Regions from separate parts of the Homo sapiens genome. Here all the other regions are linked to region 1. Evidence: promoter capture Hi-C in 16 types of primary human blood cells and fetal thymus (Javierre and others, 2016). All regions are on one chromosome and are shown on one strand. Each heading gives the region's core, a stretch centred on a gene start or on the middle of the fragment in contact. The rest is flanking DNA. Distances are from core to core; before and after follow the strand shown. Region 1 holds the start of COX7C (cytochrome c oxidase subunit 7C). Region 2 holds the start of LUCAT1 (lung cancer associated transcript 1). Region 3 overlaps ATG10 (autophagy related 10). Region 4 has its middle 3.6 kb from the start of RPS23. Region 5 has its middle 19 kb from the start of RPS23. Region 6 has its middle 79 kb from the start of RPS23. Region 7 has its middle 9.6 kb from the start of ADGRV1.

What was found. Contacts are between HindIII fragments. The CHiCAGO score rates a contact against its expected background, and 5 or more counts as called.
Region 2: a fragment that was not itself captured here is called in contact with the fragment with the promoter of COX7C in region 1 in 1 of 17 cell types (total CD4 T cells); the score reaches 7.1 in total CD4 T cells.
Region 3: a fragment that was not itself captured here is called in contact with the fragment with the promoter of COX7C in region 1 in 1 of 17 cell types (non-activated CD4 T cells); the score reaches 6.3 in non-activated CD4 T cells.
Region 4: a contact is called between a fragment that was not itself captured here and the fragment with the promoter of COX7C in region 1, in 9 of 17 cell types (non-activated CD4 T cells, total CD4 T cells, activated CD4 T cells and 6 more). The highest score is 18.5, in non-activated CD4 T cells.
Region 5: a fragment that was not itself captured here is called in contact with the fragment with the promoter of COX7C in region 1 in 1 of 17 cell types (non-activated CD4 T cells); the score reaches 5.3 in non-activated CD4 T cells.
Region 6: a contact is called between a fragment that was not itself captured here and the fragment with the promoter of COX7C in region 1, in 5 of 17 cell types (total CD4 T cells, naive CD8 T cells, total CD8 T cells and 2 more). The highest score is 11.2, in total CD4 T cells.
Region 7: a fragment that was not itself captured here is called in contact with the fragment with the promoter of COX7C in region 1 in 1 of 17 cell types (total B cells); the score reaches 7.8 in total B cells.

The regions. Positions count from the first base shown.
Region 1 is chr5:86,616,284-86,619,340 of GRCh38, forward strand. It overlaps COX7C (cytochrome c oxidase subunit 7C), which reads left to right and starts at 1,658. Exons shown (of 3, transcript NM_001867.3): 1 at 1,658-1,847. The coding sequence starts at 1,773. RefSeq lists enhancers at 1,326-1,405, 1,417-2,082, 1,469-1,763, 1,696-1,785, 2,083-2,748. The HindIII fragment of the contact is 5,230 bases long and covers 1-3,057 here.
Region 2 is chr5:91,312,533-91,315,589 of GRCh38, forward strand. It overlaps LUCAT1 (lung cancer associated transcript 1), which reads right to left and starts at 1,870. Exons shown (of 5, transcript NR_103548.1): 1 at 1,548-1,870; 2 at 1,106-1,245; 3 at 546-697. RefSeq lists enhancers at 1,295-2,494, 1,382-2,169. The HindIII fragment of the contact is 2,842 bases long and covers 166-3,007 here.
Region 3 is chr5:81,973,836-81,976,892 of GRCh38, forward strand. The region is part of intron 1 of ATG10 (autophagy related 10); the gene reads left to right. Among named protein-coding and RNA genes, the nearest start is that of ATG10, 3.3 kb to the left of the region's middle. The HindIII fragment of the contact is 1,139 bases long and covers 942-2,080 here.
Region 4 is chr5:82,280,387-82,283,443 of GRCh38, forward strand. It overlaps the pseudogene ATP6AP1L. Among named protein-coding and RNA genes, the nearest start is that of RPS23, 3.6 kb to the left of the region's middle. The HindIII fragment of the contact is 5,869 bases long and covers 1-3,057 here.
Region 5 is chr5:82,296,250-82,299,306 of GRCh38, forward strand. It overlaps the pseudogene ATP6AP1L. Among named protein-coding and RNA genes, the nearest start is that of RPS23, 19 kb to the left of the region's middle. The HindIII fragment of the contact is 3,110 bases long and covers 253-3,057 here.
Region 6 is chr5:82,355,964-82,359,020 of GRCh38, forward strand. No RefSeq gene overlaps it. Among named protein-coding and RNA genes, the nearest start is that of RPS23, 79 kb to the left of the region's middle. RefSeq lists an enhancer at 624-1,823. The HindIII fragment of the contact is 1,956 bases long and covers 526-2,481 here.
Region 7 is chr5:90,547,711-90,550,767 of GRCh38, forward strand. No RefSeq gene overlaps it. Among named protein-coding and RNA genes, the nearest start is that of ADGRV1, 9.6 kb to the right of the region's middle. The HindIII fragment of the contact is 1,940 bases long and covers 549-2,488 here.

The sequences.
Region 1 (3,057 bases), core at 408-2,907:
TTTTTTTTTTGTATTTAACTTACCACAAAGCCCATGAGAAGGCAGACAGTTCTGAAACCATATTCTGGAATCTCTGCCCTGCAGGTCCCTAAAGAGTTAACTCAAAGCCAGATACCCAATGGAGGCTCAATTAATGTGAATTAGAAGCAACAATGAACCAAATCCACAGATAACATTACTCACACTAGATTGAAAAGTGTAATCTAGAAATATTAAGTGTGAAAAAGTTTCTCAATTATAGTTAAATCAGAATTCTTTAATATGTAAAGGCAGTGAACGGAATGTTAAAAAAAAATGGAATGTCACATAACTTCTATAAATTAGGTGGTAGAGGACACCAGTTATGATGCATTTCATGAACCCCTACTCAAAAAGAAGCTACTTGTTGAAACAAAATATGAATTTAAGTGTTTTTTTTAAGTGTTTTTTTGGGGGGGAGGGGCATGGTTGTTCTCTTCCAAAAACTGAAAAAAAAAAAAAAAAAAAAGACGAAAAGAGCATATATGTTATGCCCTTTTCAAAGCAAACCTTAGGTCTTATTGGAATTGTTTCCTAATGCTATATAAATGAGACACGTGAGGCAATATACACTCCCCCACAGATGAATAACATAACATTTAGGTTACCAGGGCCTTTCACAATCTAACCTAACACCACTTTCCCAGGTTCATTTATCACTGGTTTCTTCTCAATACCTTCTGGTCAAAGACCACCAGAAGCACACATGTAATTGACAAACGGGGTTTATTATTCATTGCAGTAAGGGTTCTCTGTAAAATATTAGAAAATGCTTATTGGATTTGGGATTTTTTTCTCCTAATATTGGCTACCTTACCAAATCTTAGGAGGAAGAAAGGCTAGATCAAGGCTAAGATTGTAATTGGTAAAGAAGCAGAAGTCATCAAATTAAACCAGATAGGGTGATGTCCGGTCATTTTCGTGGCTTGGACAATGTTTTATCTGTGTTCAGATGTGATTACACAGTGATCATATTCTTTTCTTAATGAACACTGTCAGAGTGGTCTTGTTGGATGCTAATGCTTGCTGAAATTGTGTACGTTCATCAGGCGGACACCAGTTCCTAGTCCAGGCTAGCTCCAGGTGTCAGAGGCCACTTTTCCCTTCTACTCCTCACACATGCTGTACTCATACCAGACTTGAGTTTTCCCTGCCCTTTGTTCTTCCTTCTTTTTTATTCGATTCCCATTATCTTTAGTGATCATTCCCTTAGCATTTCAGTTTTCTCTCTGAAGTCCTTTGTGCTGCACGTTGTTTGATTACTTGTGTTTATGCTTTGTTTCTTCAGCTAGGATCATTAGCACATATCTCTCAGCATTGGCAAAAGTCCTCGAAATCATTGACACCTAGCATATACTTTATTTTTAAAAAAGAAAGAAAGAAGAGAAAAGGGATGGGTTTATTGTCCTTTTCAACAGACTAGAGTATACGGGGTGAAACTGCTTCACTTGATTCAATAAAATCGTTTCCGGTAACAGGCCCCAGGAATCCTAGACCTAAGCCTGGCGCGAAACTACATTTCCCACAATCCTTCGGGGGCTGATAAGGCTCCGCAATGGTCTGAACTACAATTCCCACAATCCAGGGCGATTTCCGCTTTGTCGCGTTTCCTCAAGGCTCCGCCCCATTTCCCATCTTTCTTTTCAGTCCTTGCGCACCGGGGAACAAGGTCGTGAAAAAAAAGGTCTTGGTGAGGTGCCGCCATTTCATCTGTCCTCATTCTCTGCGCCTTTCGCAGAGCTTCCAGCAGCGGTATGTTGGGCCAGAGCATCCGGAGGTTCACAACCTCTGTGGTCCGTAGGAGCCACTATGAGGAGGGCCCTGGGAAGGTTAGTGTGTAAGGGGCACGGCTTCGTTGGGGGAGGGGGCGCTTGGCTGTGACTCGCGCACCTGCAAGGCCGCCTCCGGGCTGTGGCGTGGGAGATGATAGCCAGAAACCAGGCTGAGACGCAGACTAGCATTCCACTTAGCCCAAGGACCAGTGAGGAAGCTGGGCATCCTAGCGCGTAGCCGCTAAAGGAATGGGCAGGTAGATCCGGAAGCCCTGCCTCCATCAGCCACCTGACGCCCCCTCCCCCGCCCCGCAGAAAGCCCTGAGATGGCTCCGGGAGGCCACGGCTGTAGGTGTGTTGGTTAAATCCGAGCTGGAGGTCATCGGACCCGAAATGAAGGTCATTGGAAAATCATGAGGAAATCAGGGCCTCTGGTTATGGAACAGGCTTTTTAAACTAGCTGCCTAAGTTAGAAGTACTAACCCTTCACCTCAGTTAAGGCTGGGTTTGGCCTCAGGTGTAAATAACTTAAACCACATAGCAGTAACAATCTCGGAGGGTCACACGAGGCCTAGTCATAAAGGCCAGAGAAGGTGCTTGGTAATGAAAAACAAACAAACAAAAAAAACTGTGGGCCAGGTGCGGTGGCGCACGCCTGTAATCGGGAGGCTAAGGCGTTCGGATCACCTGAGGTCAGGAGTTCCAGACCAGCCTGGCCAACATGGCGAAACCCTGTCTCTACTAAAAAGTACAAAAAAATTAGCCGGACGTGGTGGTGTGTGCCTCTAATCCCAGCTACTCGGGAGGCTGAGGCAGGAGAATCGCTTGAACCCGGGAGGTGGAGGTTGCAGTGAGCCGAGATCGGGCCACTGCACTCCAGCCTGGACAGAGCGGGACTCCGTCTCAAAAAAAAAAAAAAAGAAAAAAAAAGAGCTGTATTGCACTTAACATTGCCATGTATCTTCTAAGGTGACTACTTAGGACAGTAGTTTTTTCGATTTTCTAAAGTAAGAAACTTCTCACTATTTGACGTTTGAGTCCTCAAGACCATTCATTGCCTAGTGCTTAGTAAAGCCAGATTATTTCTTGCCATGTAGTGTTTTGTGATGAAGGTCATAGGATTTGAAAGATAAATGTTTAAAACGATGTTATGATTTATGGCATATGTTAACCTGATGATGTAAAATATAACTAGCATTTCCTGTATACTTGTATTTTGATTATTAAGCAGATGATTTGAGATTCAATTTCGATTACTTTTTCTCTT
Region 2 (3,057 bases), core at 337-2,836, 4.7 Mb after region 1:
TCTCTTCGTCTCTTTCCCACTGTGTGTTTTATTCTTCAATATTAACAGTTCTGGGAATGTAAATGTATTTAACTATATTTTCCTCTGATGAACTAGATTTTAGTATATAATTTGTGGCTTCCTTCCATACCAATTTGTTCATATTGATAGCATGCTTCAGAACAAAGCTTCAGAGCTCAGGCTATACATCCTATAACACTCTTGGAAGACCAGTAACCAGACTGGAACCAGAAATCTTATTGCCATGTTAATATGTCATTTTCCTTCTGTGAAATATTCCAATAATGTAAAGAATGCAAGATTCAAAGTCACATAGACCCATGTACACGTTCAATCTACACCAAAGTTTGTGGAGCTGTGTGACCTTCAATAAGTCTCTTAACCTCTCTGAGCCATAATTTCCTCAGTCTGAAAAATGGGATGCTAACATAAGGCCAACATTACAGTGAGAACTAAATAAAACTTTTACATAGTGTCTAGGACAGCTCCTAGCTCATATTTAGTGTTTAAAATAAGCCTCTGATCTTTCTCTTTATTTACAATACCTTTTCATTGGGAGATGAGGACAGCATTTGGACACAACTGTACAGGCACGCTAAGTCTCATCCTTCCAAAGACGTCAGTCACATTCAGCCCCTTTAGCAGTTTCATCAACAGCATGTATAGCACATGTGATAGCAAACAGCAAGTTGGATTCCTTAATAAAGCAGTAAAGAAGGTCAGCCAGGATGTAGGCTTTAAAGCCAAGGCCAGCTCTTCTGGGCAGGACAGTTGTGGCTGATGTATGACAGCCAAATGTAATGAGAGTCCTCATTTGACATATTGAAGCGAGCACCTCAAGGATGGGCAGGGAAAAGAACCATCAGCAGTACTCACCACCAGAGCAGCAGTGAGTGCCCAGGTCAAACTGGACAAGGGCTGGCAGACAGGTGGAAATGTGAGTACATCGTTAGATTTGAAAAGGCCTTTGGCAGGGCACAGTGGCTCACGCCTGTAATCCCAGCATTTTGGAAGGCCAAGGCGGGTGAATCATGAGGTCAGGAGAACGAGACCATCCTGGCTAACACGGTGAAACCCCGTCTCTACTAAAAATGCAAAAAATTACCTGGGTGTGGTGGCGGGCGCCTGTAGTCCCAGCTACTCAGGAGGCTGAGGCAGGAGAATGGCGTGAACCCGGGAGGTGGAGCTTGCAGTGAACCGAGATCGCGCGCCACTGCACTCCAGCCTGGGCGACAGAGCGAAACTCTGTCTCAAAAAAAAAAAAAGAAAAGAAAAGCCCTTTTAAAATGTCCATCCTCCCATAACCCTTTGAAGCCTCCCACGTCCCCCCAGTTCCTCCCAAATGGCATATAAAAAGGGTGATGGCTTTTAGACAAAGGCAGTAGTACTCCCCAAACAGTTAAGGTCCAGAACATCATCTTGTATATACCTGTCTTAGAGCTATCACGTTGTGTACTGGAGTTTCCTGATTACATGACAGACTCCTCTGCTAGACAAACTCCTGAAGACAAGGAGGGGTTCTTATTCATCCTTTAGCCAAACCTTACCTGTAGCTCAGCATGTAGCCCATGGTAGATGCTGAACCAATTTTGTTAACGTGAGAGAAATACAAGAAAGCCAAGTCAGAAATACCATTGTTGCTGTTAGAAAACTTCAAAGAGGAATTTGTGGTCTCTGGTGCCAAGGTCCCATAAGAGTTCCAGCTGGGTGAGCTTCTTGTGAGGAAAGGAGCCAGAAGTCAGAACACATAGTGTGACAATATGAGAGAAAAGAGGATGAAAGCTGTTCTTAAATTGCACCTGTCTAAGGCAATCCGAGCTTGACACATGGTTTCTGGAGGTCTGGGCATTGTCTGAGTGGAGTGTTGATTGTATGTCTCCTGGAGCCTTCTGTTTAAATAACTGCCAGAGCAGGATGACTCAGCAGCCGGAGGATGAGATGCTCTTGATCTGCCGTCCTCTTTAAGTGACAAATCACATTGCCCTGGGTGTCTGTGGCAATCTCTGATATGACACACTCCTTCCTGCCAGCCCATCAACCAGGGTGGCAAGTCACAGTTACTAATCTGGAGACGGCTGAAAATTGCTGACAGGCAAGATCCCATGCTCCAAGTGTAGAGAATCATCTTTAAAATGAACTCTTGTCAATCTTGTCAATAGATTTTCTTTTTTTTTTTTCTTTTTTGAGATGGAGTCTCACTCTGTAGCCAGGCTGGAGTACAGTGGTGTGATCTTGGCTCACCGCAACCTCCACCTCCCGGGTTCAAGTGATGCTCCTGCCTCAGCCTCCCCTGGTAGCTGGGACTACAGGCGCATGCCACCACACCCAGCTAATTTTTGCATTTTTAGTAGAGACGGGGTTTCACCATGTTGCCCAGGCTGCTCCGGAACTCCTGACCTTAGGTGATCCGCCCACCTCAGCCTCCCAAAGTGCTGGGATTACAGGCGTGAGCTACCACGCCCAGCCTAGATTTTGTTACTGAGACTGAGTCTCACTCTGTTGCCCAGGCTGGAGTGCAATGGTGTGATCTTGGCTCAGTGCAACCTCTGCCTCCTGGGTTCAAGCAATTCTCTTGCTTCAGCTTCCTGAGTACCGGGGATTACAGACGCCTGCCACCACACCTGGCTATTTGTATTTTTAGTAGAAACGAAGTTTCGCCATGTTGGCCAGGCTGATCTCAAACTGCTGACCTCAAGTGATCCGCTCGCCTCGGCCTTCCAAAGTGCTGGGATTCTAGGCATGAGCCACGGCACTCAGCCTTGTTTCTGAAATGTAGAGACTGATTTTACATTTCTAGTCTGTCTCCATATCAAAGACTCCCTATTGTCTTCAGGATAAAGTCGAAATTCAATATCCTGACCATTAGGGTCCTATAGGAACTTATCTATACCTACCTTCCTAGCATAATAGAATCTTAACTTGTTTTGCTTTTTTTTCTACTTGATATCGGCTTACTTCTGTTTGTTTCTTTGTTTTTGTCCCTGGCAGATAAATGGTGACAGGACAAAGCTTTAAGAACGTGGCCTAGAGGCCAGGTGTGGTGGCTCACTCCTATAA
Region 3 (3,057 bases), core at 261-2,760, 4.6 Mb before region 1:
TTGTTATTGATATTTTAAATTGAAGAAATTAGTGGAAATAGTAGTTCTAAATTGCATACATTTGAATGTGGAGTGTTAAAAGATTATTTCCCTTGTCTCCTGTTTTATTTAGGATAAGGTTAACTGAGATTTTGGTACATGGTGGGCCATTCAAGTTATGTATAATGTTTTGTGACAAACTACATGTCGACAGTAGTTCCTGATGCCTAATACATTTCTGAGAAAGGTAAAGCAGCCCTTTAGGAAAAACAAGGAGAGTAAAGCTTACAGAAGATTTCTTAAGATGGGCTTGATTTGATTATCTTTGAAACCTAGAGATGTGTTTGGGACCCAGGAGGTTGTGTTTGAATCATAAATATAATCAGGGAACCTTAAGAAAAAAAAAGCCATGGAGATCATTTGGTGATTATCTATTGAAAACAAATGTTTTCAGGGGACAAGCAGCCTGAGTATAATAAAGCAATTAGAAAGTTGGGGAATGGAGAATAGGAGAATAAGCTGTACCTGAAGGAATCTTAATTAGGGAATGGTTGCTGAAAACTGCAGAGACAAGACTTCTCTAATGTGCTTACCTGATCACATAGTTTTATAGGATCCAGGAAGAGGGCTTAGTAATAGGAGTGTAGCTTTGAAGCTAGGGTTATTTCATATCACTGTCATGTAACATCTTTCTGAGAAAACCTTTTTATCATCTCTTCTGAGCTCAAGAACCTACACTGGTTTCCTATTGCCAATTGTTTTAAATGGAATCTCCTTTGGGTTTTTTGGTTTCTTCTTTTGGTTTTTTAAGAAGTGGGGTCTCTAAGTTGCCCAGGCTGGAGTGCAGTGGCTATTTAGAGGCACAATTAGAAGGCACTACACAGCCGTGACTCCTGGCTCAAGCAGCCCTCCTGCCTCAGCCTCCTGAGTAGTGAGGACTAAAGGCGAGAGCTATGTCTCCAAGCTTCCTTTGAGTTTTAAGACTGTAAACTTCCTGCACCCTGTCCCCAGATTCTCAATATCCCTCAATCTATACTCTCCATTCAGGTTCTTTACTGGTCTACCTCATTTCAATCTGTTCCAAGGTTCACTGCCACTGCCCCATCCCTTCTATTTCTTTCTTTCTATATCCTCCTATAATTCAAGGATTAACTGAAATCTAACTACTGTAGGGCCCAGGCTCTGGTTCCAGACTTCCTTAGGTCAAATTACTACACTTAACAGCTGTGTTACCTTGGACAAGTTACCCTCTCTGTCTCAATTTCCTTATCTATAAAATAAAGAAAATCCTAGTAATTTACCTCAAAAAGTTGCTCTGAGGATTTGTTACTAGTTCTTAATACATAGTAATATATGCAATTTTAATTATTTTAATCCATACTAATTCTTTAAACAGTGGTTGTACAATTTATCACTGTTTTTTGTTATCCATTATTCTCTGATGTTCTTTTCAATGTGAATCTTTACTTAAAAATTTGATTACTTTGAGAAGAATGTGTATTCTGAAAAATAAAAAAATATTTGGTTACAAACTATTGAAGGCAAAGACTGTATTATACTTCTTTTTGAAAGTCTCTTAAACCAAGGCTGGGTACAGTGGTTCATGCCTGTGATTCAGCACTTTGGGAGGCTGAGGCAGGCAAATTGCCTGAGCTGAGGAGTTTGAGACCAGCCTTGGCAACATTGCAAAACCCTGTCTCTACAAAAAATACAAAAAATTAGCTGTGCATGGTGGTGCACACATGTGGTCCCAGCTACTCAAGAGGCTGAGGCGGGAGGATTGCTTGAGCCTGGCAGGTGGAGGTTGCAGTCAGCTGAGATGGTATCACTGCCCTCCAACCTGGGTGACATAGTGAGACCCCCCTCTCAAAAAAAAAAAGTGTCTCAGACCTCTCAGGATGATTTGGGGGCTCAGTGTAATATTTTTTTCTTCCCATCTTACTATCTAGTTTTCTTTTTCTTTTTTGTTTTTTATTGTACTTTTGTAGCTTAGAGTTTTAAATTTAAACTCAATTTTGTTCCAAAAGTATTTGAGGTAGCTTAAACTATATAATATATAATAACATACAAAATAAAGAGAATCAAGATCATAAAAATATGAAGCTTGAATAGAAAGATGTGATTAGGGTGAGTTATACTGAAAATATACTGTGAATGTTGTAGAGTTATTTATTTATTTATTTATTTTATCTTTTTTTTTTTTTGAGATGGAGTCTCACTCTGTCGCCCAGGCTGGAGTGCAGTGGCGTGATCTCGGCTCACTGCAGGCTCCGGCCCCCGAGTTCACGCCATTCTCCTGCCTCAGCCTCCCGAGTAGCTGGGAGTACAGGCGCCCGCCACCTTGCCCGGCTAATTTTTTTTTTTTTTTGTATTTTTAGTAGAGACGGGGTTTCACCGTGTTAGCCAAGATGGTCTCGATCTCCTGACCTCGTGATCCGCCCGCCTCGGCCTCCCAAAGTGCTGGGATTACAGGCGTGAGCCACTGCGCCCGGCCTGTTGTACAGTTATTAAAGGTAGGCCACAAAGTTCCAAGCTTCATGGTGGTCAAAGGAAAGAAGGAAACATATTTATTGCCCAGCAAAAACAGCTTCCTGTGTTAAAATAATTAATTGGGAGGCCATTGCCTGAGGAAGCTCCAGTGCCCTGGGTTCCTACATAAACAGACTTACACCAAACTCAGTGTAAATGGTTGTATTCTAGGAAAATGAAACTTTAGCTTAACCAATCAGAAACCATCAACTAACCTCTAACCACTGACTTTTACTGGAATGATCCAAGTAAGGCTACTCCACTTTGACCAATCACAGATTTTCTTGGCCTTGCTTCTGCCGTTCACTCTTCAAAAGCCTTCTAACTGTGTCCTTTTGGTGCAGCCCCATATTGCTTGCATTCTGGAGCTGACCAATTCATTAATATGCCTAGTGTTCCATTATTGGAACGCTAAGCTTGTGGGAGTTATTTATATCCTGCTCATGGTCATCGCCAAGGTCTGATTTTTCACAAAAAAAATTTGCAACCTCCAGCATAAATGGGTTAACCATTGTCTGCTTAAATAAACATTTTCTTGTTTTTGTTTTT
Region 4 (3,057 bases), core at 154-2,653, 4.3 Mb before region 1:
AATGTTACACTCTGTTCAAAGCCAAGTGAAGAAGGGAGTGAGAAAGTGTGAAAAGAGATAAGATGAGGACTGAGAATTGCCTTTTGGACTTGAAAATGTGGAGATTACTGGTCACTTTGTCAAATGGGGACTCCATGGAGTACTGAAAGTGAAAGGCGATGGGATCGGAGTGAAGAGAATATGGGAGGGAAGGAAGTCTAGACAGCAACTATAGACAATTTTTGAAAGACATTTTTTATGTGCAGAGAAATGGCACCCTATTTGGAGGGGAATGTGGAGTTGGAGGGTTTTATTTTTAAGATGGCAACTTTTATGACATTTTTGTATGCTGATCAGGTTGAGAAAATTAAAAATGGGTTATTCAGCAGAGAAGGGATAATTGCAGGAGCAACTCCTTAAGTAGACTAGAAGGGTACCCAAGTGGAGGAGTTAACTGTAGGAACAATAACAGTTTATGTATGGTAGTAGAGTGACAGGTACAGCTGCAAGTAAATTGGAAGATTTGATGATAGGAAGTTGTGGAACTTCTTCACTTTTGACTTACTTTTTCAATTTTTTCAATGAAATAAAAAGCAAGGCCATCAGTGAAGAGAAAGAGTGGGAGAAAAAGGTTTGAGGAGAGAAGGTAAGATGTGAAATCATCATCAATGATAACAATATAAGCATTAGATAGTATTTACTATGTGCCAGATTCTATTTTTGGCTTATATTTATTAACTCATTTTATTCTCATAAGGAATTTTACTGAGGGACAGATAACGATAATTTTACTGAGGGATAGATATACAAAAACTGAGGCTTTGGTGAGTTTAACTTCCCCAAGATCACGTATTTAGTAAGTGGTAGAAGTAAGATTTTAACCCAGGTAATCTGGTTTTAGAATCTTGTATTTGACCCCTCTTATACTGCCTCCTAATCTAGAATGGTAGGAAAATGCATTGACAAGAAAATAGGTTTTTTGAGCAGTTCTGAGAGCCCATTTGAAATCTGTGTTTATGAAGTGACATCAGTGAGTTATGTGTATTTCTTCAGATTCACAAATACTGCATGTTTACACTTATATGTGGAATCTAAAAATTTTGAACGGATAGAAGCAGTGAGTAGAATGGTGGGCGTGGGAGTTTGGGGGATCTGGGGAGCTGTTGGTCAAAGGATACAAAGGTTTAGTTTGACAGGAGGAGAAAATTTTCGAGAGACTTGTTGAATAACATGGTGACTCCAGTTGACCCACAAACAATATGGGTTTGAATTGTGTGGGTCCACATACAGGCAGATTTTCTTCTGCCTCTGACACCCCGAGAAAGCAAAAACTCCTCTTCCTCTTCCTCCTCCTCAGCCTACTCAATGTGATGACCTTTATGATGATCCATTTCCATTTAATGAGTAGTAAATAAATTTTCTCTTCTTTCTAATTTTGTTATTAACATTCATTTCTGTGGCTTAATTTATTGTAAGAATATGGTATGTAATACACGTAACATGAAATATGTGTTAATAGGCTGTTTATGTTATCAGTAAGAGTTCCAGTCAACAGTAGGCTATTAGTAGTTAAGTTTTCGGAAAGTCGGAAGTTATACACAGATTTTCTACTGTGTGGGGAGGTCAGCATCCCTAACCCCCATGTTGTTCAAGGGTCAACTGTATAAATAACAAAGTTTATATTGAAAATTGCTAAAAGAATAGATTTTAAGTGTTCTCACCACAGAAAAATGATACAAAAGTATTTGAGGTAATGCATATGTTAGTTAGCTCTATTTAACCATTGTACAATGTACATATATATTTAAAATATGTTGTAAACCATAAATATACACAGATTTTGTTAAAGAATAAATAATTTAAAAATAATATTTAAAAAAGATGGAGCCACACAAAAAGTGATTACTCAATGAAATTGTGTCACTGTCTTACACTGAAAGCATAAATCAACTCTGGATAAATTAAGGGCTTAAATATCAACAAGAAAACTTTGAAATTCTTAATAGAGAACAAAGGTGAATATCTTTTTGAACTTAGGAAAGGAAAATGTTTCTACACATGACAAGAATGATAAATTTGATCATATTAAAATTAAGACCCTCTATTCATCAAAAACATCTGAAAGAAAGTGAAAAGACAAGTTCCATACTGAGAATTGCTATTCATAGCCACAAAACTTACAAAGGATTAATATTTTAAAAAATTTCTGGCCGGGCGTGGTGGCTCACACCTGTAATCCCAGCACTTTGGGAGGCCGAGGCAGGGGGATCACGTGAGGTCAGGAATTCGAGACCAGCCTGGCCAACATGGTGAAACCCCCTCTCTACTGAAAATACAAAAATTAGCCGGGTGTGGTGGCGCATGCCTGTAATCCCAGTTACTCAGGAGGCTGAGGCAGGAAAATCGCTTGAACTGAGGAGGCAGAGGTTGCAGTGAGCCGAGATCGCTCCATTGCACTCCAGCCTGGGCAACAAAGTGAGACTCTGTCTCAAAAGAAACAAACAAAAAAATCCCTTCTACAGAATAATATAAAAGAACAAATAATACAGTGAGAAAACATGACAAAGGACAGGAATAGACCAGCCATGGTGGCTCACATCTGTAATCCTAGCACTTTCGGAGACTGAGGCAGGTGGATCACTTGAGGTCAGGAGTTCAAGACCAGCCTGGCCAACATAGTGAAACCCCATCTCTTTACTAAAAATACAAAGAAAAAAAGAATTAGCTGGGCATGGTCGCGTCTGCCTGTAGTCCCAGCTACTCGGGAGGCTGAGGCAGGAGAATCGCTTGAACCCGGGTGGCAGAGGTTGCAGTGAACCGAGATCACACTACTGCACTGTAGCCTGGGCAACAGAGCAAGACTCTGTCTCCAAAAAAAAAAAAAAAAAGAAAAAGACATGAATAGGCATATCATAAAGAAGGAAACGTGTATGACCCATAAATATTTGAAGAGGTATTCATCATGTCTGATTATGATATAAATGTTAAACTTACTTGAAATTAGTTGGGGGAATACTTCCTCTTTTTCTGTTGTCTCTAAGTGTTCATATAAAATTGGGATGATTTGTTCCTTGAAGG
Region 5 (3,057 bases), core at 558-3,057, 4.3 Mb before region 1:
TAAAATCTATACATATAGACATTAACAATTTTTTTCTTCCATTGTTTCTGAGTCAATTGGTGCTTTCCTGCAGGTTCACTTTTGAATAGTGACTTCTATTCTTTAGTGGTTAAAGCCTAGTTCTGTTTCCCCACCTGGGTTACACAGAAATGCCTGATTTGTGTATTACACTAGTAAAATGTACACCAAGAATTAGAAAAATCCTAGTTCTGTTTTTAAGACAAAGTTAATGGGCTTAATTTTAGCTTCAGAAGCTTTAGATCTTAGAAATCACATAAGTCAATGATCATTTGAATCTAATATTATGGCTCATTAATTCATTATGAAGGAAACAACAGTTGTTGTTTTGTGTGTTCTTTCAAATAATGGATCTGAAATTTAAAATATCTTTCAACTCCCTGGGGCTATTCAATATTCTGTCTGTAGGAAGGAGGATTGTAGTTTAAGCTCGATACACGGTTTCTAAACATAGAGTGAGTAGGGGTCATTATTCTCACTTTGCACATTTCTTCCTCAAGTTGGGTTTATTCTTGATCCAAAAAGAAATCCTGTGTGACCTCCCATTTTCCACTTTGATTTCAGAGTATTTTCATCAATTTCTTAGTTCATTTGTGCATGCAACACATTTTAAAAATAATTGGTGCTTTTAAGTAGCAAGGCCCCATGCTAGATGCTGGGTCTACAATGGTGAGCACAACAGGGATAGTCCCTGGCCTCACGGACTAAGTCTAATAGGGAAGCCCTTGTTAATCAAATGATATATATTATTCCAAATAAACTTTGAAATGTGTTGTGAAAGAAAAGTATAGGAAGCAATGAGCACATACAACAGGGGGATTGGAACTTGCACAAGTTAGGGATTGTGTTCCTGAGGAAGTGACACTTACGCCATCATCTGGAGGAGATGTAGAAAATAACTAGGAGGATGGAGAACATTCCAGGTGGAGGGACCAGCAGGTGCTAAGGGAAAAATGGACCATGAAGTGTTCAAGGAACTGAATAATGCTAGAGTAGCGGAAGCAGAGAGAGAAGGGAAGAGGTGAAATAAGGCAAGCACAGCTGGCAGGCCGAAGTCTGCCTGGGTAATGTCTGGGTATTCGTGCCTCTTTCATATATTGTATTCAGTTACGTTTTAACCTGTACTACAAAGTCTGGAGTTTAGGTAGGTTAGATGATTTGGCTAAAGCATATCTCTATTATAATTTCATTATTACTTGGATGGGAACCTCACTTTTGTTGCTCAGGAAATTAAACTTGTACTCACAAGAGACTTAATATAAACCGTAATGCTAATTTATAAATTTCTAAAGGAAGACATCTTTTTAAAAAATTAAAATAGAAAAATTTATCAAAGTAATACATGTACATGGTTTCAAAAAATCAAAAGGTGACAAGACACATTAAAGGAAAAATTGTCTTCTAGTTACTTCTATAGGCAAACATTTTCAAATTTTTAGTTGTTTCTTCTGTTGGCCACTGCTTGTATTAGTCACCTTTTTTCTAGAAACAAAACAACCCCTACATTGCAGAAGTTTGCAGCCTCAAACATTTCTTTCTTGCTCCTCTTACTTCTGACAGCTACAGGCGGGCTGCTGTGACCCTGCTTTAGCTCTGTTTCCACTTCTCATTCCAAGTCCCAGACTGAAAGAGCAGCCCCTATTTGGGCATGCCATTCTTATGACAGAGGGAGTGGGGCAAGAGATGGCAGGCACATGCAGACACTCGCAACTTCTGCAGAACTGCCACACTGTTGCTTCTGCCCATATTCCATTGGTCTAATTAAGATGTATAGCTGAAACTGGAGAGTTCCGTGACCCCCCTTGCAGGACATGCAACAGGGGTGTGGTGCATCTGTTTGGCCACTGCCACATGTGCTCAAACCTTTTACAAGAAGGGGAGCATGCAGATGGGCAGGTGCAGGAACCAGGGCAAGTGATTTTGGGTTCTGGCCTCATGGTAGCATCTAGGCTTGGGTTCCTGTGACTCTCAAAGCCCCAGTGGGTGTGCTACAGTGCTCTTTTAGCTCTGCCATCTTCAGACAGCTTAAGTGTTAACCAGCTTAGTGCCCTCTTGGACCCCGGGTTTTTGTTTGGCATCCAGGAAGAATCAGGTCACACAGGGCTGGAAGGATGGTGAATGTGGGGGTTATACTGAGTGGTGGAGGTGGCTTTCAGCAGGCTGGATGGGGAGCTGGAAGGGTGATGGATTGGGGGATGATCTTCCCCTGGAGTTTGGCTGTTCAGCAGCTGATCTCCTCTCTGACTGTCCCCAGCCAAACTCCTCTAGATGTTCAGATGCTGCTTCTCGTCTCTCTTCTCTGTCATGCTGTTCTGCTGCTCTTCTGTTCACCTGTTCATCTGCTCATCTGCTTGTGGAGCCTGGGGTTTGGGGTTTATATGGGTACTGGATAGGGGGCCCTGGTGGGCCAAAAGGCAACATTGGGGTGCAGAAACAGGAATGCCTGTTCCCATTTAGGGCCGTGGGTTTCCAGGCTTAAGGGTGGGGCCTTTGCCAGGAACTGCCCCCTTCTATCCAGTATTTCCTCGTCTGCTGTTCATATAATAGCTAAGCCTGATGATGGGGCAGGAAGTATTTTCCACCCACAGGGAGGAACTGCAAGTCATATGCCCTAGGGGGATGCAAAATCCTCTCCCAGAGAAGGAAACAAAGACTGGGTAACAATCATACAATTCACCATACTGCCATAATATCAAAATAATATGCATAGGTGATTTCTCCATTTATACATGTTAGATTTTATAACAAGTTCCTTTATTATTGACAAAGTTCCTGTCTTCAATGTCCTCATCTTTCTTTCCTCCACCCCCCATCCCTCCAATATAGTTACATTACTACTTTCAGTTCATCAGTGCTTGCGTCAATATGACTATGTATATTGTTCACAGACAAGCTAGTTAGTAGAGTGTAATTTTGTTTCTTTCTTTCTTTTTTTTTTTTTTTTTTTTTTTGTGCAACGTTTCTTTTTCCCTTGAGTTAAAAATGGCCTTTTTGTAGTTGCAATTTCAAAACATGCATAGTCTTAATTCTTTTCACATA
Region 6 (3,057 bases), core at 254-2,753, 4.3 Mb before region 1:
AAGTGAAATAGGATCTGCCAATATCTGTCAGTACTCCATAGGAACAAAGCAGTGGAAATGAAACTCAGTGTTTGGGCTGTGCATGTGTGCGTGTGTGTATGTGTGTCTTTGTGCAGTTGGCAGATCAACCCTAAACAGGCCTCGTGTGGCTGAGGCTCATGCATTCACAAATCCAGGTGGTGGCCTCCATTTGCAAAAAAATTTCTTTGTTTTGCCATTCTCTGGGCAGAAAGTACTGCCAATAATATATGAGTAATATCTGGGGCTCATTTCCATTTGGATGTGGAGACTTAGGTCTCTAAAACTTTCCAAAAAAAATGTCCGATTGGGCCAGTAGGGAAAGCCATGATGCAACCTTAGTGGACTCATTTATGCTTTGATTGCCATTTCCTGTAGATATCCATGTTTATACATTACGAGGCATAATGTGCTTCATCTTATTATGTGCTATTATTTTAATTTTTCCAATGATAAAATAATGCATGCTTTTTTGTAGAAAATTTGGAGAAATGTATCCTATATAGAAGCTTAAAGGAAGTATGTATAATCTCAGCAAGCAGTGTTATCTCATGCTGACTTAATTCTAAAAGAAATTTTGGTAATTTTTGTTAATTCTTTGTTAATTCTATGCAAATCATTCCATTGAAAATAATAATGACAGAAACATCAGAGTTTTAGGTTTGATCATCAAAACCTGTTTACTGTGAACCTAAAATACAACAGGGACCTGTTGGGATGCATCTAAATTCCAAAGGTCATGTGGATACGTCCTCAAATCTTTTGTTTCTGTTTTAAAATGACAGTGATGGTAAATATTTATGGTTGACTGTGTATCATTGCCCTACATTTTTTATGTGAACCAACTATTTTAATAATTACAAGAATCTTAAAGGAAAGTGCCATTGGTAGAGTCCCATTTTACAGATGGAAAAATTGAGATGAAAAAGATTAAGTAACTTGGCCAAGGTTACAGGCAACTATGCAGTAGAGGTGAGTCAGCCCGTCTTCCAGAAACCCTGAGCATCTTCCCTTCTAAACTTGAAAGTGTTTAGTTTCTTCAACTAAGGGCATAACCGGGTCAGTCAGGATGTATTTGACCACATGAAAGGGCAGCAAAACACATCTCTTTGCTTTGATTTCTGTAGAAACATGTCCCCTGTGTTAAGTGGTGACAAGCCTCGTGGGGGTTTTGCTCAGGCGACAGGCTGGAAATGCATGTGTGGCAGGCGGGCTTGTGAGATCACATCCGAAGCTGGCTGGACTCAGTTCAGTCCTTTGGAGTGTTGATTCAGATGACGGGGGGAAGAGGCGAACCCCTCTTCTTTGGCTTAGAAGATTACGGATCTGTAACTTCAAAAGCTGTTTGCAATTTTATATTCACGTCTCGCTGCCAAGGTGCTTGTCTTATCTGCAGTCTGTTGGCTGGGGCCCTTGTGAGTAAGCTGGGCGGTTTCCTCCTGCATTTGGAAGGAAGTTGCAGGGTCAAAAAGGGGGGTGGGTGGTGGAGAGGTGAGTGTGGCTGAGAGGATGACACCAGCGGAAACAAGGGAAATAGTCTGGGAGGAGGGCCAGACGAGCAGGGTGTGTCAGAGTGAACTCAGGGAGAGGAGAGGAAAGGCCCTTTCCTAGTCTGTGCTGATCTGGGAGGACACACCATCTAAACAGGAAGAGCACAGAACAGAGATTCATCAGACAGACCTGCTTGGGGTTCTTGCTTGCTGGTTTTAAGGCTTTGTGACCTTGGTCAATTTACTAAACCTCTTTGGCCCACCTTCCCCTTCTGTACTGTTTGCTGTATGGTCTGTTTTTTGCTAAGCTCAGGTGGTAATGTTGCCCTCAATACTCCATGCCCAGCTTGTTACAGAAGGAAGAATGCTGGTCTAGGAGACAGGAGATCTGGGTGGATTTTCTGTCCTTACTCTTCATCAGCGATCTGACCCTGGGCAAGATTAAGAACTAATGTGACCCCCAGTTTCTTAATCTGTCAAGTGGGTATAATAATACATACCCTTTTAACTTCACAAGGTTTCTGGGATGCTCAAAGAAGATCAGGTGTTTGAAAAGATTTTGTAAACCTAAAAGGATTATACGTTGAGCTGTTCTAGATGCTGGGTGAAATGTGCGACTGAACACACAGTACTGGTGGACTGCTGGGTTCTCACTCAGGGATGGCAGAAAGGTTTCAATTTGTGAGCCAGCCACTCTCATTGACTGGGAGTGGCTGCCTGGACCTCCTGAGCTTTGGCTGCGTTCTGAGGGAAAGAGTGCTCATGTTGATTATTAATGTCTGTCATGGACAAAGGGGTAGGAGAAGTGGTTCTTGGATTGTGCGTTTGCTCTTTCTGTTCCCGCCTAGTGATTTCTAAATTCGGTTGCTCATTTAGATTCTCCTGGTTAAAATGCCCCATCAGGCAGATTTCCCATTTCATAGGCCTGGATGTGACCTGGGGTGAAGGCAAGGAATCTTCATTTTTTAAATAAAGCTTTCCTTGCTGGTTATTTTGATAGTTGTGCAGGTGTGGAGAGGTGGAGCAGGCATCGAGTCACATGGGAGCTCCAGGTGAGTCTCATGGAGCTCTGAGCATTGGAAGAATGGAGCACAGAAGAGTTAAGCAACTTTTCTAGACATGGTCGTAAGTTTGAAAAATGTAGATCAGGCCTGTGGTTTCTAGTAGGTTGCCTAACTCTTTCTTCATTAAACAAATGGGTTGTATTGTCTGTTATGATGATTCTCCCACTGGCTTCAGGCCTGATTATTTTTCCTTGTGGTTCAGACAGCTGCTCCAAAAGAGTCAGATGCTGAGATCCATTGTCCACCCTGGCTCCTGCTCTGAATTGACATCAGTTTGCAACTAGCAGTTTCATAAATCAAGAAAAAGAAGAAAGGTAAATTAATGACTGTGTTAACTAGAGGGGCTCTGAATTTCTGCTTTACATGTACTCATTTTGAATTTCACTTTTATTATAATGAACTTGCAAACACAGCATTGCAATAGTATATGCACCTCCCAAAGATGCTGGGAAATAGCTGATATTTCATCATTTGAGGACAGTTTG
Region 7 (3,057 bases), core at 269-2,768, 3.9 Mb after region 1:
ATTATAAAAACGTATTTGAAGAATTCTCAGTATTTTGCAATAGAAAGGGTCAGTTTTATAATTTTAAATTTGTTGAATGGTGAAGGCATTAATGCATGGAAGTGATTATTAATAAATAGAAAGGTTTGGTAGATAACATGCTTCTTGTTACTTCTGTTTCAAGATACGTTATATATAGAAGTGGAATTTAATATGTTTTATATCATAGATTTAAAGATTTTGTACCAAAAGATTTATACCGTCCCCTCATCTCCATCCCCCCCTCACATACCTCCCAGGAAATTAACTGTTTGAACTCATCGTTGGATAAGTTTACCACAGCCCACAGAATATTTCTGGAAAATTTAAATTCTTTTTTACTGTAGTCTCTGGAATGTAAATGCAAGCTTATTATAAGATAATTATGCAAGGAGTGGAAACCTTATATTCTATCCTCATAAATAAAGTGTAGACAGAAATAATAATCTTGGCTCAACTGGAACTCGAAGTTAGGAATGAAGGATTTGTTTGCCTTGTCTCCTCCCAAACCTCAAGTAATAAATCTCAAAAGCTTCAATATTGATTCAACAAAATGAATGGCTGAGTCATTTCAGAAGGACTCTGACAAGTGGACAAACGCTGCCATGGCGACATTTTGATATGCAGCGTGCTTACTGAGCCTGGCTGGCTTCCTCCCCCTGCCATTAAAGCAAAATGACAAACCATGGGAAGTGCCACACACAGCGTGCCTAAACCAGAGGCAACTGGGGGTGAAAAACAGATTTAATTAGCTGTTCTCAAAAAGTTAAAAACTGGATATACATTTATGTTTGATTTATGGAGGAATTCCTTTTAAAATGTGAGAAAAACTGCTCTGAGATGTGCTTCTTGCTAAGAAATAGAAACTATTATTGATTTTAAAGTCTCAGACAGCATTCTCTGTAAATGTTTTGTAAACATACTTTGTAGGATAAAATATTTTTAGCTTGGAAATACAGATTTAAAATATTTCCCATAGGACATAAATTCTACTCAATTCGTCTTTTACTGAATAATGTAATAAAGTATTACATGTGGCCAGTAAAAAAAAAATACAATATGTGTAATCACATACTATTACTGCTGCATATATTTAGATTTGTAAGGAAATAAATGTCGGAAAGTAATATGTATACTTGGATATTACTTGATCTTAATATTCATTTGATGGAGCTACTTAGGAATTACATATGTGTTCTTTTCTTTATTAGTATAAAGTATATCAAGATATATTAAAAGCAGGAGCAATTCACATCAATGAAAAGATGTTATTTTAAAACTTTTAGTGGGAAATTGCTATTATATATGCGATTATGTATTTGTTAACTTTATTTATGTATAATTAACACTGTAGTTTTTTCAATATTGAATTGGTTAACTGAGAAGAAAAACTGTCTCAATTGCAGCTAAAATACAACTAGAGTAGGCAATAACTGTTTTGTTTTATTTTGCTGTTTTTCTGTTTGTCAGTTATTAAAATCTCACTATGTAGCAGACTTCACTATCTCATTCAATCCACACACAAGCCTGAGCAATGAGTCCTAGGAGACTCTCTATTTTGCAGATAAGGAAACTAAAATGTGAAAGGTTAATAAATTAATCTAAGTTCACTCCACCTATCTACACTATATGATCTCTTGACATCATCTGGACCTAACCATATTAAATGTTTTTATTTTTGCTATTCTATGGCTTTAGAAATAGAAACCATACTAGTGACTGATATCACAAAGTCTCAGACATCATGTTCTATAAATAGACTTCTTGAAAAAAACATTTTTAACTTAGGAAGGTAAAGATTTAAAATATTTGCAGTAGAACATGAAGATAATACTTAATTTATCATTTGTATTTTACTTATTAATTTTAGAACATTTCATGAGAGTATAAAAATTTAGATAGCATTAGGAGATATACCTAATGTTAAATGAAGAGTTAATGGGTGCAGTGCACCAACATGGCACATGTATACATATGTAACAAACCTGCACATTGTGCACATGTACCCTAAAACTTAAAGTATAAAAATAAAAAAAAATTTAGAAAAGAGAAAGATAAACAAGTACAAAAAAAGTGAAGTATTAATTTCACATGAAGAAGCAAAGAGAAAAGCCTTTTTTGTTGGGTTTGTTTGTTATCACGCTTGTGGTTTCAGCTTCTAAAATGGCACCTCAACTTCTGTTGTCTGTGAGGATCTGGGTTGACTGCTGGCTTATCAAACATCTCAGTCTTAAAGAGGAACTACTTTTTGTATACTTCATCTATATAGGGAAGAAATCATTTACAGAGAAGATTTTGTCACATCACATTAAAGATTTCAAAATAGTCATAATAAATTATGATAAATTTGTCACCACTAGATAACCCACACATAGTCTAGATAAGATCCAAAGGCCTTGGCAAGACAGGAAAATGTGGAGACCAGACTCCTAGACGCACTTCAGATTCTTCCCTCTGGGTCACTCCATGAAGCTTTTTGAGAAGCAGCTTTCAGTGGGCCTACCTTGTCCAAATAGAACCAACCAAGGCTTGAGATGCTGCTCACACCTTAACTCCTTTCTGGGAAAGTGTGGTGTCATGTCTCCCTGGAGCTATTTTTGAGCTCTTGAAATCTTTCTGCTCTTCTGCTTTATACCTTCCAGAAGGACTTACTCCTCTCAATTTTCCAAAATCTTCCCCAGCTTTTCTTTTCTTTCTTTCTTTTTTTTTTAGTGGTGGTCAGGGAGTGGGGAGGAGATGGGATCTCGCTCTGTTGCCCAGGCTGGAGGGCAGTGGTGCTGTCATGACTCACTTCAACCTTTGCCTCCTGAGCTCAAGTGATCCTCCTATCTCAGCCACCCAAGCAGTTGGCACTATAGGCCAGCGCCACCACACTCTGCTAATTTTTTTTTTTTTTGAGATGGAGTCTCGCTCTGTCGCCCAGGCTGGAGTGCAGTGGCACCATCTCGGCTCACTGTAAGCTCCGCCTCCCGGGTTCACACCATTCTCCTGCCTGAGCCTGCCGAGTAGCTGGGACTACAGGCACTCGCCACCACGCCC